Linked DNA regions of Homo sapiens: regions 1, 2, 3 and 4 are each linked to region 5. The links are contacts of gene promoters, found by promoter capture Hi-C in human tissues and cell types (Jung and others, 2019). All regions are on one chromosome and are shown on one strand. The core of a region is centred on a gene start or on the middle of the fragment in contact, and the rest is flanking DNA. Distances in the headings are between cores, read along the strand shown.

Region 1 (2,710 bases), core at 137-2,636, 340 kb after region 5:
TGTTCCTGGAAAGTGTGATCCTGTGGGTGCAGCCCCTGCTCGCTTGGCTGTGTTGCCTGCCTGGCCCCTGCTCTAATGAGCCCACTGCCCAGAGTTTGCTCAAACCACCCAATTCCGAGTCTGGGAACCAGGAGACCGCTGGACACCCCGCTCACCACACAGAAGACTGTGGCCTGAGTCAGGAGAAGGAAGTTTCTGGCGGTCGAGCTTCCACGGCTTCCTGAGGGAGGTTGCAGGGAGCCGAGATCGCGCCATTGCGCTATAGCCTGGGCGTCGCAGCGAGACTGTCTCAAAAAAAGAAAAAAAATTCTGAGCGAGATTCCAGGGCTTCCTGAGGGCGCGTTTAAGTTGCAGTTGCTGAGGAGGCTGCAAGGTGAGCTTGCGTCAGCGAGGAGCCACTCCAGCACGCTCGGGAAGGGCATCGTTACTGCTGCAAACAAGCACACGGCCCTCCACGACGAACCTTTTGCAAGTGAAGGCGCACGAACAGGCCCGGAGGACTACAAAGAAACCCAGAAACCAGACTTGGACACATGAAATAAAGGGGTTAGCTGAAGGAATACTCCACAGTTAAGGACGGCCTGCGCGAGGTCACCGGCCCTGTCTTGGTTTTTTGCCACTTCGCTCCAGTTAGTTTCCCAAGTTCCACCTACGCGCGCGCCAGCTGAGAAAACGCCCACCCCGGCGGTCCCGCCACAGGTCACAGGCGGTGCGGACCCCGGGACTGTGTCCGGGCTTCGGTGTCCAGAGAGCTCCAAGACACCCAAACCTTCCGTGGTTTCCACCTCTGCAAGCTTATGTTCCGCTGAGCTCAAGCTGAGGGACGACGACCTCATGCGACGTCAGTTTCCCCCTGGGACCACGAACCCACGGCCCCATTTCTCTTCTGTCTACTAAAAACCTTTTCTTTTCTTTTTTTTTTGAGACCTAAGACATCAGTGAGACACACGAGCAGACACGGGCTCGGTCGGGAAAGGCGGGAGCTCCAAGCGGCGGGGCCTGCAGGTCCAGGCGGTTCGCGGGCTTTCTGACCGCATTCGGCCGAGTTCTTCTCTGAAGACCCAGGACCCCCGGCCGAGGGGGCGCATTCGGCGGGCTGGTGGCGTAGGATTTTGTTTCGGGTTCCCAGGGTCCCGGCAAGGGTGAGGGAGCCCTTGCGGATCCCCTGAGATCCACCTCAGCAGCCTCCTCCGTGGTAGGCCTCAACTTCCCGCGGCGGCCCACAGCCAACGACTAATGCCTGAGCGGGAGAAAACGGCCTGGCCCTGTCCGGGTGGTTGCTGAGCACCGTTCGGCGCCGCCCGCGCCTGCAGGGAGCCCGGCCCGCTGTCCTGGTGGACACAAAGCCCAGGGGCCGCCCGCGCGGGACCAGCAGCGCGAACTTTTTGCCGCTCGGCCAGCCTGGCAGGGGATTTTAAAATCGGCCAATCACAGCGGGCGCCAGGCCTCCGCTTTCCGCTTACTGGTCCTGCCGTAGGAGGCGGGTACGTGAGCGCACCAATCTGTGGCCGGCGAGCGTAAAGGGCGGGGCTCCGCCCAGGCTGCACCGCCCAGAGCGCGCGTGCGCGAGACCGGAAACGCAGCCCCCTGATTGGCGGCGCGTGTCGGGGGCGGGGCCGCGGCTGCGTGACAGTTGTCGCGGGGGGAGGGCGAGCCCAAGCGCGGGGGAGGGAGTGTAAATAGAGCGAAGGCTGCTCTGTGTCAGCCCCGTCACCGCCGGGCGGCCCGCGCGGAGTCTGAGGGAGATGGAAGTTGAGCAAGAGCAGCGGCGCAGAAAGGTGGAGGCCGGGAGGACGAAGGTAAACATTAGGGGCTTCTTCTCTAGCTGCTCTGGCGTGAAGTCCTAAGGGCGGCTCCGGTGCCCGCCACCGCCCCCTGCCAGGAGAGGACGCGGTCCGGCGGAAGCCGCCGCGGAGGTCTCGCTTTTTCCCGCCGGCTCCGCTGGAAGCCGCCTCCTGGCCGCCGCCATCTTGAATCCGCCGCTCTCCGCCAGGTCCCGCCCCCGCCGCGGCCACAGCCAATCAGCGGCCGGGACGCGCGGCGCCTCTCGGGCGGGCCGGGGCGGGGCTGCGCCTGCGTCGGGGGGGGTGGGGCGCGGGCTGGGCGCGGTGCACGCCGGGGCGGGGTGTGGCTGCAGGGCGGGGCTACAGGGGCGTGGCGTGGCTGCACGGAGGGGGTGGGGCGCGGCAGGCGCTGGACCCCAGGCTGGATCTTCCAGTGGCTCCCGCGTCCTCCGGGACCGGGTGGCCTGGGGCGGGCGGCCGGTATTCGGGTGGCTGCTTGGTCTAGGGCCAGTTTCCTGCGCGGCCGGGGCCGGGGGCGTGGCGCGGGTGGCCTGCAGCGCCTCCCCAGGGTGCGCCTTCGCCTCGTCCGTCGGAGATGCTTTCCCCGCGCGTTTCTCGCGGCGTTGCAGTCCTTACTGTGTGAAAGGCCCCCGCGGCGCTCCCGGCCGCCGTCTTCTTCCCGCGCCCTTGGGCTCGCGTCCTGCCCGTCCGGGCCTGGCGTACGCTGCCGGGAACCCACGCGGCGCTGGCGCCGGGCGCCTTCAAGGGACGCGCTCCCGTCTTTCTCCCGCCCCGGGTTTCTCCGTGAAAAAGCGCTCGGTTTGATGGCCACTGTCCTAGGTTTCGTGGGAATAAAGCGCGCAGAGCCCATGACTCGGGGGCAGGAGAAAGGGAGTCCCGAAAGCGCGAGGCGGAACCGCGGGAGC
Region 2 (2,700 bases), core at 151-2,650, 260 kb after region 5:
TGTTAATGAGAAAGACATTCCGGGAAACCAGGAGGTGAGGAGACCAAGGATTAGGCTCCACTCCTATTATGAAGATGAACAGTTTTTAGAGTATCATGGAGTTGGAGAAGGTACTTCAAGGATCTCTATGGGGAACAAGAAGGAACAGCAAAGTTCCACCATCCTGTGCCCTTTCTGTTCAGGTTTATTGTTGTGAATGAGAATTTTTTTTTTTTTAACATGTTGTGGATCTATCTATCTGATCACCTTATTGAACTGAGAATGGTTCTATGGACTTGACTTTTCTTGGACTGACAACTGTACTGTCTGGAAATGACAGTTTCTCCTTCCTTTCAGTATTTGTGCCTGTCTATCCCACATCCCTGTACTGGTCAGGATTTCCAGGACAATAGTGAATAATAGTCGGGACAACAGGCTGGTTCTGATTCCACTGTTCCTAACATTCTACCAAGAAGCATGTTTTTTTTCTATTTTGGTAGTTTTATGTTAGGTAGCCTTATCAAGTTAGGACTTTTTTTTTTTTTAACCCAAGCTAAAGAAAGTACCCAAAATAAAGAAATTTTATCAGGAACAGGTATAAATTTTAAGAAACGTATTTCAACGCCTGCTAAAATTACCACTTATTTTTCTATTATGGCAACAAATTACATTAATAGATTTTCACTGTTATTGTTTATCCTGGGAGAAAGCATACTTGTGAACTTTTTTAGGTACTGTGCTTTGGAACCAAATTTGGAAGTGAGATGAAATGTCAGCTGTACTCTCCTGGTTAGGTATGATTTCAGGGTCAGGTATGCCTGATAAATGAAGTGAGATGCTTTAACTTTGTTCTAGAATAGTTTCTACTGCATGGGAATGATCTGTTCCTTGAGGATTTGTCACAGTCTGCCCACAGTGGACTGGATTTGGCATGTAGGATGTTAATTTCTATTTACTTTGCAAGAAAAATACAGTTTAGCAAGCAACAGAAACATACTGAACATGAACCTCACCGTCCCTCTCTCAGCTGTAGCTCCTTCTGCGTCTGCAACCTGGCTTGTTCCCACGACAAAGGAACATCATATTTTTTCAAATCGTTTTTAAAAAAATACACACATATCTGACCATCTTCACTCAGCGCCTCTGAGAAAACAATACAAAAACAGATAAAGAGGCCAGCCTGGCCAACCCTGTCTCAAAAAAAAAAAAAACACACACAAAAAAACAAAAACAGGTACAAATAATATTTAAACAGCGACAGGTGGCATGTGCTTAAATTCACTGATTTAAGTGCAAGACCTTTGATTAAAGTCACACAATTATGTGACTTCCACACTTGGGTTAAATAGGCTCCCAGGGTCCATGCATCACTCAAAGTCCAGACAAGCTTACATCGAGACTGGCAGGGCCAGTAATGACTACTCAAAAGCCACAAAATCCTCTCTAAGAGCCATCCTAGGGGGCCTGTTTCAGGGAGGTGAGTTCAGGCTCTACCAGAAACTTCCTAGCCTGTCTCAATGTTTTTAAGTCACTCACTTGAAGAGGGAAGTCCTAAGGAAAGGAAGGATAGAGACCCAAAAGAAAAGCAGCAACATCAACTAAACATCTTCCTTTGCAGAAACTGGACCAGGAAAGTCTCGTGAGGAGCTGATCCCATTGCATCAAGCTCTAATTACCTGATGTAACAGGAAGCCGGGGGGGCGTCCAGTCTCTCAGCTTGTGGTTGATACACAAGGCGATAAGATCATCCCATGGGATCTCCATGACCGAGGGGCCTGCCCCATGGACTGGGGAGGGACTCTTGCTCTTCCACCTACAGTAGGTTCTGTGGAGCAGGTTCTCCACCTGGGACTGGAGGACAGGCTGTGTCTGGCGTGAGCTGGGGATCTGGGAGGCGTACTGGACAACCATGGAGCACACGGGGAGCCAGGGGGCTGGGGAGAAAGTGCCTCATTAGTTACAGGTTTGGCCAAAATACAGGTGAAAATGTACATGAAAACATTTTCTCAGGAGAAGGCAACTGTGAAGTTGAGAAGTCTGCTTTCTAAACACAGCAGAACCACAGTTGTTGAGGGGGAAGAGCAGCTTGCTCCCAGGGTCTAGGTGAGGGATGCAGACAGTCCCCCTTAACAGTGTTGCTAGCCAAGTTCTACCCAGAAGTTCTGACTGTACAGGCCTGTGGTTGTGCCTAGGAAATCTGTATTTTAACAAGCACCCAGATGAGTCTGGTATAAGCAGTCTTAGCTTATTTTGGGGAACCCCAACCTAACCAGAGCACCGAGGGCTTGTGCTGAGTGGTTTGCTTCCCTTTGGGTTCCTTCAATAATGAGCATGAGTTAGACCTACTACAGACCACACACCACAATTTAGAAGGGCGCCTGAGGCCCAAAGGGGAGTGTCTGTGCTAATGCCACAACTTCTGCCAGATAAGCAGCTCATTCCCTTCTGAGTGCATAGGAAGGAGCAGCCCCATGCCATACTGGGCTTGAGCCAGCCAGATGGCCTGTCGGATCTGTGTCAAAACAGCCCAAAGACCTCAGCCAGGAACAGGGGCACAGCCAGAGCCATAGAAGAAGGCCTCTTTGACAAAGAAAGAATGTTAAATCAGCACTGAGTGCCATGGCTGCGGCTTGGGGACAGGGCTACATGGTCCCCATGCTCTTTGCCCCTTGTCTGTTCTGAAAACAGGGACCCTGTGGGCAGGCAGGACAGGATCAGGGT
Region 3 (2,700 bases), core at 193-2,692, 330 kb before region 5:
GATGGCGGAAGTTGAAAGGTACATCTCACATGGCAGCAGACAAGAGAAGAGAGAGAGCTTGTGCAGGGAAACTCCCCTTTTAAAACTATCTGATCTCTTGAGACTTACTCACTGTCACAAGAACAGCATGGGAAAGACCTGCCCCCATGATTCAATTACCTGCTTACTGGGTCCCTCCCATAACACATGGGAATTCAAGATGAGATTTGGTTGGGGACACAGCCAAACCATATCAGTCATAATATATCCTCCTCTTTAAAAAATATTTAAATATTTGCTTTTTATAGTCTACTTAGAACTTATTTTTGTGTGGGGTATGAGATAGAGATCCAATTTTAAATTTTTTCCAAATTCATAACCAATTGTACCAGTATTGTTTATTGAATACAGTCCTTTCCCCAGTGATCTGCAGTGGTACCTCTGAAACACATCAGATTTCACAAATGCATGGATCAGTTTCTGGTTGCTTCATGTACCTAATGATAATTTAATTTCTTTCTCCCTAGTTCTTAAATCTTTTATTGATCTTTTTTTGTCTTTTTTCCTTTGCTTGGACCACTAGAGAAAGTTGTATGGAGATTGTGGTAAGATTATCCTTATATTGTTTTTCATTTAAAAGAAATGCTGTGAAAGACTGAATTATGAACTTTGTTATTTTTTTTTTGGTAGATTCCTTTATTAGGTTAAGGATGATCACTTTACTAGTAGTTTAATAAAAGCTTTTTAAAAAAATCATGAATAGATTTTGAATTTTCTCAAATGGTTTTCTATACAGTGTACTTATTTAGATAATTTTAAGCTTTTTTTAAAAATCGTGATTGAGATGAGATATTTTATTCTTTTAATTTAAGCCATCATTGATTTCCTGGGAGAAACTGTGATGTACTACATTAAAAAATATTACCAGGCCAGGTGTGGTGGCTCACACTTGTAATCCCAACACTGAGAGGCTGAGGCTGGAGGATCATTTGAGCGCAGGAGTTCAAAACCAGACTGGGAAATATAGTGAGACCCCATTTTTACAAAAAAAAAAACCAAAGAAAAAAAATTAGCCGGGCATGGTGGCATGCATCTGTAGTCCTAGCTACTTGGGGGACTGAGGTTGAAGGATCACTTAAGGCTGGGAGGTTGAAGCTGCAATGAACTGTGATCATGCCTCTGCACTCCAGCCTAAATTATTGGACCCAATATGCAAATATTTGGGATTTTGGCATATATATTCATAAGAGGTGTTGACCAGTGATAATCTTTTCTTGTATCACCCTTATTCAGATTTGGTATCAACATGATACTTCATCATCTTTGTAATAATTTCTTTCTTTTTTTTAGAGACAGGGACTCTCTCTGTCACCCAGGCTAGAGTGTAGTGGTGCTATCATATCCTACTGCAGCCTTGAAGTCCTGGACTCGAGTGATCTTCTTGCCTTAACTTCTTGATTAGCTGGGATTATAGGCGCAAACCACCATGCTCAGATAATTTTTAAATTTTCTTTTTGTAGAATAAGGGTCTTGCTATGTTGCCCAGGCTGGTCTTCAACTCCTGGGCTCAAGAAATTCTCCCATCTTGGCCTCCCAAATGTCATAGTTTTGGAAAGGGAGGAATTTTTATTTCCTGGAAATTTGGCAAAATCGATTCTTAAATGGTCTGGATCTGGACCTTTTTAAATATGGAGACACTTGCAGTAGCAATTAATCACTTTGGAAGGGTCGCTAGTCCATTCTGCTCACATTTCATTGGCCAGAAGGAGTCATTCTGGCCATACCTAATTTCAGATGGGGCGGGGTGGTAGAATCTTCCTCATCCTGGAAGCAGGGGGCACTCAGTCCAATAGCACAAGGAAACAAATTTTGTCAATAATCTTGAGTGAGCGTGGGAACAGATTCTTCCCGTCAAGGCTTCAGGTGAGAACACAGCCTGGCAAACACTTTGAATGCAGCTTTGTGAGACCCTAAGCAGAGGACCCAGTTAAGCCTGCTTAAATTCGTGACTCACAGAAACTGTGAGATATTAAATACATATTGGTTTAAGGTGTTAAATTTGTGATAGCTTGTTATGTGGCAATAGAAAACTGATGTACTGATCTCTACTGACCTCCCCTTAGAAGTGGATTTGGGTTGATGAAGGGTGTTCGACTCTATTTAAGGTAACCAGCTTATTATTTATTTTCTTTTATACAACGTTTTTTCTATTTATAAAAGTAATACAAATGTTTTGTGTAGAAAAATTGGAAGAAACAGAAAATTATAAAGTAGAAGATCAACATTATCCTTAATCTTAGCACAAAAGGATATTCAGTGTTTTTTCCTACTTGTATTTATGTATGATATGCATATCCTAAAGTTGGGATTCATTCCAAAGTATGTTTTTTGAACCAATATTTTTCCTTTTACTAGATCATGAGCATTTCCTTGTCTCATAATGTGTTCTTCTAAAATATGATTTCAAATGGCTGCATACTATTCCAAAGAGTGTCCCAGTTTATTGAACCATTTCCCTATAGCTAGACATTTATGTTGCTTTAAAATACTCATCATGATAAATAATGCTTTGAAAAATATCCTATACAAAAATCATTGTGCGTATCACTGATTGCTTCTAAATTTCTAAAGGTAGAACTATTAGCTCAAAGGTTGTAAATGTTTTTAAGTCCTTTTCTACCTAACCATCTATTTTCCAACATTTCTAAAAAATAATGTAAG
Region 4 (2,700 bases), core at 161-2,660, 280 kb after region 5:
CCCATCAGTGGGGACACCCAACCCCAGGACATGCCCTTCAGGGGACACACCCACACTCAGTCCATGCATATTGGGGTCCCATCAGGGGGACATGCCCACTCCAGGCCACACCCAAGGGGACACACCCACCCAGGCCACACCCACCAGGCGGACACGCCACCCCAGGTCACACCCATCAGGGGGCGCACAATGCTGCCAATGATCCCGTCAGGAATAGACGGGTGTTGAGTTCAGACACACGGGCTCAGGCCGGTGCTGTGACAGGAAGCTCCTGAGATGAAGACGGACTCCAGAATGAGCCTGAATAGGTGGGCCCTACCTGAGGCTGAGTGACTCTAGGCAGGACCCCTCTCTGGACTCTCCTGAGAGACCAGGCGCCACAGCCCCACCTCATGGGGTGATGACTAAGGACGTTTGCGCACAATGGGCTTCCCAGAGTCCAGACCTAGAAAAAAAGAGTCCCTACCTCGTCAGAGTACATGGGCACGGGCTCTGGAGGCGGTGGTTCAGGCTGCACAGACAGCTGGAAGAGGCTGGGCGCCACAGACGGGGTCAGTGCCAGGACAGGAGGCAGAGGCACTGGTGAGGGCGCAGGGGCTGGTAGAGACTGTGGGAGACTGGACAGGGGTGCATCCGGCTCTACACCACACTCCTCTCCTCTCCCTCCGCCTGGAAGGAAACATACAGGACAAAACATAGCTGCAGACACAGGGTGCCTGGCACCACGGGGACCGAGGTCTGTGCAGGGACAGCCCCAGGCCACCCACAGTGACCCTGAGGACTGGCCTGCCCTCCAGGAGACCAGCTACGTGGGACAACATACGCTTTGCATGAAAAACAAGCCCCAGGATGTCAGGGAGCCAGGAGGAGGGCTTCAAAGCCCTCAGTCCACTCCCAGTGAGAACCATCTGAGCATGAGGAAGAGCCACACCCCTGGGCCCCAAGACAAGACAGGTGCTCAGGCTCCTGGGAGGCGTCCTGGCGAGAAAATGCAGATGCCCAGGCTCCTGGGAGGCGTTCTGGTGGGAAAATGCAGCTAGTCCCCTCACTACGACTGCAGCTTCACTCACCCACTGTGTCGGAGCCGGGTCTCTGGGTGCTGACGGGCAGCTCCGCGGCCAGGCTCTCCCCGATGTACTTGTTCTGGGAGTTGAAGCTGCACACAGGGGTATGACGAGGGACGGGGGGCAATGGCCCTCCGTTCACAATTTCCCCGACTGACACCGTCAGCTTCCTAGTAATAAACACCGACTTCCTGGTCTTGGATAATCCCTCTGGTTCCAGGAATGCAGACCGGTTCAGCTCCACACAGCTACCCAGACCACAAAAGACCCCCGAGGGGTGTCACCAGGGGAGAAGACAGCTTCGCCCTCAGTGCCCTGCCGAGTACTGCAAGCCCCTTGGGTGTCACCACAGCCATGTGTAAATAACAGAAAGCACAGGCGCCAGGTCCCACTGCCGCCCACCCTGGAGCCTCTGTAGGTCCCTAGAACCACTAAGCCCAGCGTGTTAACAGACGCACGCTGACTCACTCCTGCCTCCTTGCTGGCTCACCCAAAACCGTCTAATTTTCTGAGGACAGAACTGGAAGGAGGAGACAGAACTAGAAGGAGACAGAACTGGAAGGAGGAGACAGGCAGGAGGCAGGTGAGGAGTTAGAGGAGACAGGGTGGGGAACTAGGCACCGGGTGTTGAGTGTAAGCTGCCAGTTTCTGAGAGAGCGTCTGTGAGTCTCACCACTCTGACTGGTAAGTACCGGAGAAGACTCCGGCTGGCCTGCGGGTGCCTCCATCCCAGCCGTCAGAGGTTGTCCGTCATTGGCTGGCAAAGGCAGTCAAGGGAAAGAATAAAGAAGGCCCTAACTTTTATCTTTAGGTTTGTCAGCAAGTCATGAAAAGGACTGATTTTGGAGTCACAAAGAACTTGGTCTGAGCCCTCAATGTGCTGACAGCCAGGATGTGACCTTGGGAACACCCCCAGCCATTCTGAGTCTCGTGTGTTCACCTGCATGGCAGAGGGAATGCACCTTCTTCAAGTCAGGCAAGCAGCCAGCCCTTCACAGCCCTTCATCAGAATTAACAAGAAAAAAGGAGACAGGGGCCCCACAGTTCCATTCTCAGCTCTTACCCGTCGGAAACGGTGAGGCCGTGGCAGGTGAGGAAGTCGGTGGCCTCTTCACAGTCTCTGAACAGCAGCATGCGCACCACACCATCCAGGGGAAAGATGGTAGATCGCTGTGTGCTCACCGTGTACGCAAAGTTGAGCGCCCGGAGAGCATCCTTGCGGATCTGAGAGGAGGAGCGAAATCACTGCAGTCTCAGACGAAGGCCCAGTCAGACACATGCAGTCAGCCCATGACCACAGCCATGGCCAGCGTGGGGCACATGGGCTCCTCCTGGGCTGAGTCCACCAGAAGGCGCTTTGGCAACACGGAACCCAAGCTTAGAGATCATAGGCGGTCTGCTCAGGGGCAGTGCTCAGGAATGCGTGCCAAGCAAACACTCTCATAGAGAAGGATGGCTTGTGAAGGTTTTATTCATAAGAGAAATCATGAAACAAACTGTCCATCAACAAGACCAGGTGAAGTCAGCTGTGCAGCATCCACATGACAAAAGGCCAGGAAGGTGCTGCAGAGGACCCCGGAGACCATGGAATGCCAGCAGGAAACCAATCCCGTGGAATGACATATAATAGTTGGAG
Region 5 (2,700 bases), core at 88-2,587:
AGCTCTTCTGGGACCTTCTGTGGGCCAGGGATGCATCTGGCCACATCTGGAGCCCACCCCCAGGTGATATCAGGGACAGCCCCTCTCTCCTCTCTCTGTCTCTCTTTCTGTCTCTCTGTCTCTGTCTCTCTGTCTCTGTCTCTCCGTCTCTGTCTGTCTCTCCTCTCTGTCTCTCTCTGTCTCTGTCTCTCTGTCTCTGTCTTTGTCTCTCTCTGTCTCTCCTCTCTCTGTGTCTCTGTCTCTGTCTCTCTCTCTGTCTCTCTCTGTCTGTCTCTCTGTCTCTCTCTGTCTCTGTCTCTCTCTGTCTGTCTCTGTCTCTCCTCTGTCTCTCTGTGTCTGTCTCTCTGTCTCTGTCTTTCTGTCTCTCTCTCACTGTCTCTGTCTCTCTCTGTCTCTCTGTCTCTGTGTCTCTCTGTCTCTGTCTCTCACTGTCTCTCTCTCTGTCTCTGTCTCTCTGTCTCTCTGTCTCTCTGTGTCTCTCTGTCTCTGTCTCTCTGTCTCTGTCTCTCCTCTGTCTCTCTGTGTCTCTCTCTGTCTTTCTGTCTCTCTGTCTCTCTCTGTCTCTGTCTCTCTCTCTGTCTCTGTCTCTCCTCTGTCTGTGTCTCTGTCTGTCTCTCTGTCTCTGTCTCTCTGTCTCTCTCTCACTGTCTCTCTCTGTCTCTCTGTCTCTGTCTCTCTGTCTCCACACACAGCATATATAACAACTATATTGTGAGCAACTTTGTCTTCCCACGGTACAAACTGAAATATCTTTGGCAAATACGTATCCGACTATACTGTGAAGAAATATTGACGTGAAAAAAGAACGCGGAGATCTGATAAAGCAACAATTCAGCTCACGGCGAGGTCCTCTGCAGGAGGCGGTTGGTGGGAAGAGGCGAGTGAGCCTGCCCGTGCGTCCCGCATGGAGACGTCTGGATTGGAAACTACCGAAAGATGTTTCAAGGAACTCTCCCTGGGTGACACGCTGGTTTTCAGACGTTTGATTCAGCTGCTGCAGTTTCCTCCTCCCTGACACGGGAACTGAACTGCAGGCCGCGGCGAGCCAGCCAGGGAAACCGCCTTCTCCCTGGGCTCGGAGCTGCTGCCGGTTCTGGAGGGAGAGACCCCAGCAAGGAGGTGGTGACTCATGGGCCGCTCCTCCCCGCCCCGCCCCGCCCCTCCCCTCCCGCCCCGCCCCTCCCCTCCCGCCCCTCCCCTCTCCTCCCGCCCCTCCCCTCCCCTCCCCTCTCCTCCCGCCCCGCCCCTCCCCTCCCCTCCCGCCCCTCCCCTCCCCTCCCGCCCCTCTCGCCCCGCCCCTCCCCTCCTTGCCCTCCGCTCTCACTCTGGCTGGGAGCAGAAGGCAGCCTCGGTCTCTGGGCGGCGGCGGCGGCCCACTCTGCCCTGGCCGCGCTGTGTGGTGACCGCAGGCCCCAGACATGAGGGCGGCCCGTGCTCTGCTGCCCCTGCTGCTGCAGGCCTGCTGGACAGCCGCGCAGGATGAGCCGGAGACCCCGAGGGCCGTGGCCTTCCAGGGTGAGTGGTGGCTTGGGGTGCAGGCTCCAGACCCCCCGCTCTTTGCTGCCGGCCAGGGCCAGATGCGCGGGGTCCCCTCCCACGCGTGGAACTGCAGACTGGGGGCCTGGAGCCCCTGAACCCCACTCCCCGCTCGGGGCGGCTGCAGCGCCCAGCTCTGCCCCACCGGGCCTTGGCCGGGGCCCCTAGAGGCTCAGCATTCAGCATTCTCAGCGGGGCCGGACCGCAGGCAGCTCGGGAGGGGCTCCCTGGCGAGGGGGAGCTGGTGCGGGGCTGTCTCGGCGCCCCGTGAATCCGTTTGACCCCTCACCTGGCAGTGAGTCCAGACGCACGGCCCCCCCGACCCCCGTTCTAGAAGAAGTCGTGCGCTGCTGGTTCTGAATCCAGCGAGAAACCTTCCCGTGAGGTCTCACTTGTCCGGTCCCGTGCCGGGGACGCCCTGCCCTTCGGGGGAGGTTGTGAAGGTTTCTGACTCCCCTCGAGGCACAGGAGCGGTTTGGGGTCTCTCACTCCACCCCCTCCCCACCGTCCCCACCGAGGGACGTCCTGCTGCCTTTTCCCGGGAGAGCCTCTCCGGGCCCGGGGCTCTGTGCTGCAGGCGCTGGGCTGGCCGGGAGGGCAGGCCCAGCAGAGACTCGGGGAATGGGGCGAGAGCTTGAAGGCCCCTCTCCTCCATCTTCGGCCAGACTGCCCCGTGGACCTGTTCTTTGTGCTGGACACCTCTGAGAGCGTGGCCCTGAGGCTGAAGCCCTACGGGGCCCTCGTGGACAAAGTCAAGTCCTTCACCAAGCGCTTCATCGACAACCTGAGGGACAGGTAGGAGGGACGCCCCGTGACCTTCCTCCTGTGCTTCTGGGCCTCTTGGAGGGAGGGGTGGGGGCCCAGGGGAACACGGGTGCGACGGCCTCAACCTCCTAAGGTTGGGCGAGCGTTGCCCTGACCGGGGCCCCTCCCGGCGCCCTCCAGAGTGAGGCCGGGGCCCTTTCCGGCGCCCTCCAGAGTGAGCTGGTCTGAGCCTCTCCCAGCGCCTTCCAGAGTGAGCTGGTTTGAGACCCTGCTCGCGGGGGTGGCACCTGTTCAGCAGGGCCGAGGTGACAGTGAGGCTGAGATGTAGGGAAGAGAGGCTCCCGCAGGCTGACCGAGAGGGCTCAGCGCACTGGCCCAGACACGCAGTCCTGCCTGGTG

What was found. The method cuts DNA at HindIII sites, captures the fragments that hold promoters and counts their contacts. A contact is called where the count stands out against the background at its distance.
Region 1: the fragment with the promoter of C21orf58 here is called in contact with the fragment with the promoter of COL6A1 in region 5 in 6 of the 25 tissues and cell types used here (IMR-90 fibroblasts, liver, mesenchymal stem cells and 3 more).
Region 2: a fragment that was not itself captured here is called in contact with the fragment with the promoter of COL6A1 in region 5 in 3 of the 25 tissues and cell types used here (IMR-90 fibroblasts, bladder and mesenchymal stem cells).
Region 3: a fragment that was not itself captured here is called in contact with the fragment with the promoter of COL6A1 in region 5 in 1 of the 25 tissues and cell types used here (lymphoblastoid cells).
Region 4: a contact is called between a fragment that was not itself captured here and the fragment with the promoter of COL6A1 in region 5, in 2 of the 25 tissues and cell types used here (hippocampus and mesenchymal stem cells).

Annotation. Positions count from the first base shown.
Region 1 is chr21:46,322,484-46,325,193 of GRCh38, forward strand. It overlaps C21orf58 (chromosome 21 open reading frame 58), which reads right to left and starts at 1,387. Exons shown (of 8, transcript NM_058180.5): 1 at 156-1,387. The coding sequence starts at 255. PCNT (pericentrin) reads left to right here and starts at 1,673. Exons shown (of 47, transcript NM_006031.6): 1 at 1,673-1,799. The coding sequence starts at 1,746. RefSeq lists an enhancer at 916-1,055 and silencers at 1,406-1,735, 2,006-2,465. The HindIII fragment of the contact is 24,092 bases long and covers 1-2,710 here.
Region 2 is chr21:46,241,810-46,244,509 of GRCh38, forward strand. MCM3AP (minichromosome maintenance complex component 3 associated protein) reads right to left here. Exons shown (of 28, transcript NM_003906.5): 24 at 1,656-1,913; 25 at 993-1,122. All of the region lies in intron 3 of MCM3AP-AS1 (MCM3AP antisense RNA 1), which reads left to right. Among named protein-coding and RNA genes, the nearest start is that of MCM3AP-AS1, 14 kb to the left of the region's middle. The HindIII fragment of the contact is 7,439 bases long and covers 1-2,700 here.
Region 3 is chr21:45,649,141-45,651,840 of GRCh38, forward strand. The region is part of intron 1 of PCBP3 (poly(rC) binding protein 3); the gene reads left to right. Among named protein-coding and RNA genes, the nearest start is that of PCBP3, 6.8 kb to the left of the region's middle. The HindIII fragment of the contact is 3,792 bases long and covers 1-2,700 here.
Region 4 is chr21:46,264,855-46,267,554 of GRCh38, forward strand. It overlaps MCM3AP (minichromosome maintenance complex component 3 associated protein), which reads right to left. Exons shown (of 28, transcript NM_003906.5): 10 at 2,128-2,288; 11 at 1,071-1,312; 12 at 467-669. Among named protein-coding and RNA genes, the nearest start is that of MCM3AP, 19 kb to the right of the region's middle. The HindIII fragment of the contact is 5,088 bases long and covers 1-2,700 here.
Region 5 is chr21:45,980,433-45,983,132 of GRCh38, forward strand. It overlaps COL6A1 (collagen type VI alpha 1 chain), which reads left to right and starts at 1,338. Exons shown (of 35, transcript NM_001848.3): 1 at 1,338-1,515; 2 at 2,202-2,331. The coding sequence starts at 1,419. It overlaps LOC105372841 (a long non-coding RNA gene), which reads left to right. Exons shown (of 3, transcript XR_937803.3): 3 at 858-1,134. RefSeq lists enhancers at 1,096-1,958, 1,959-2,700. The HindIII fragment of the contact is 42,283 bases long and covers 1-2,700 here.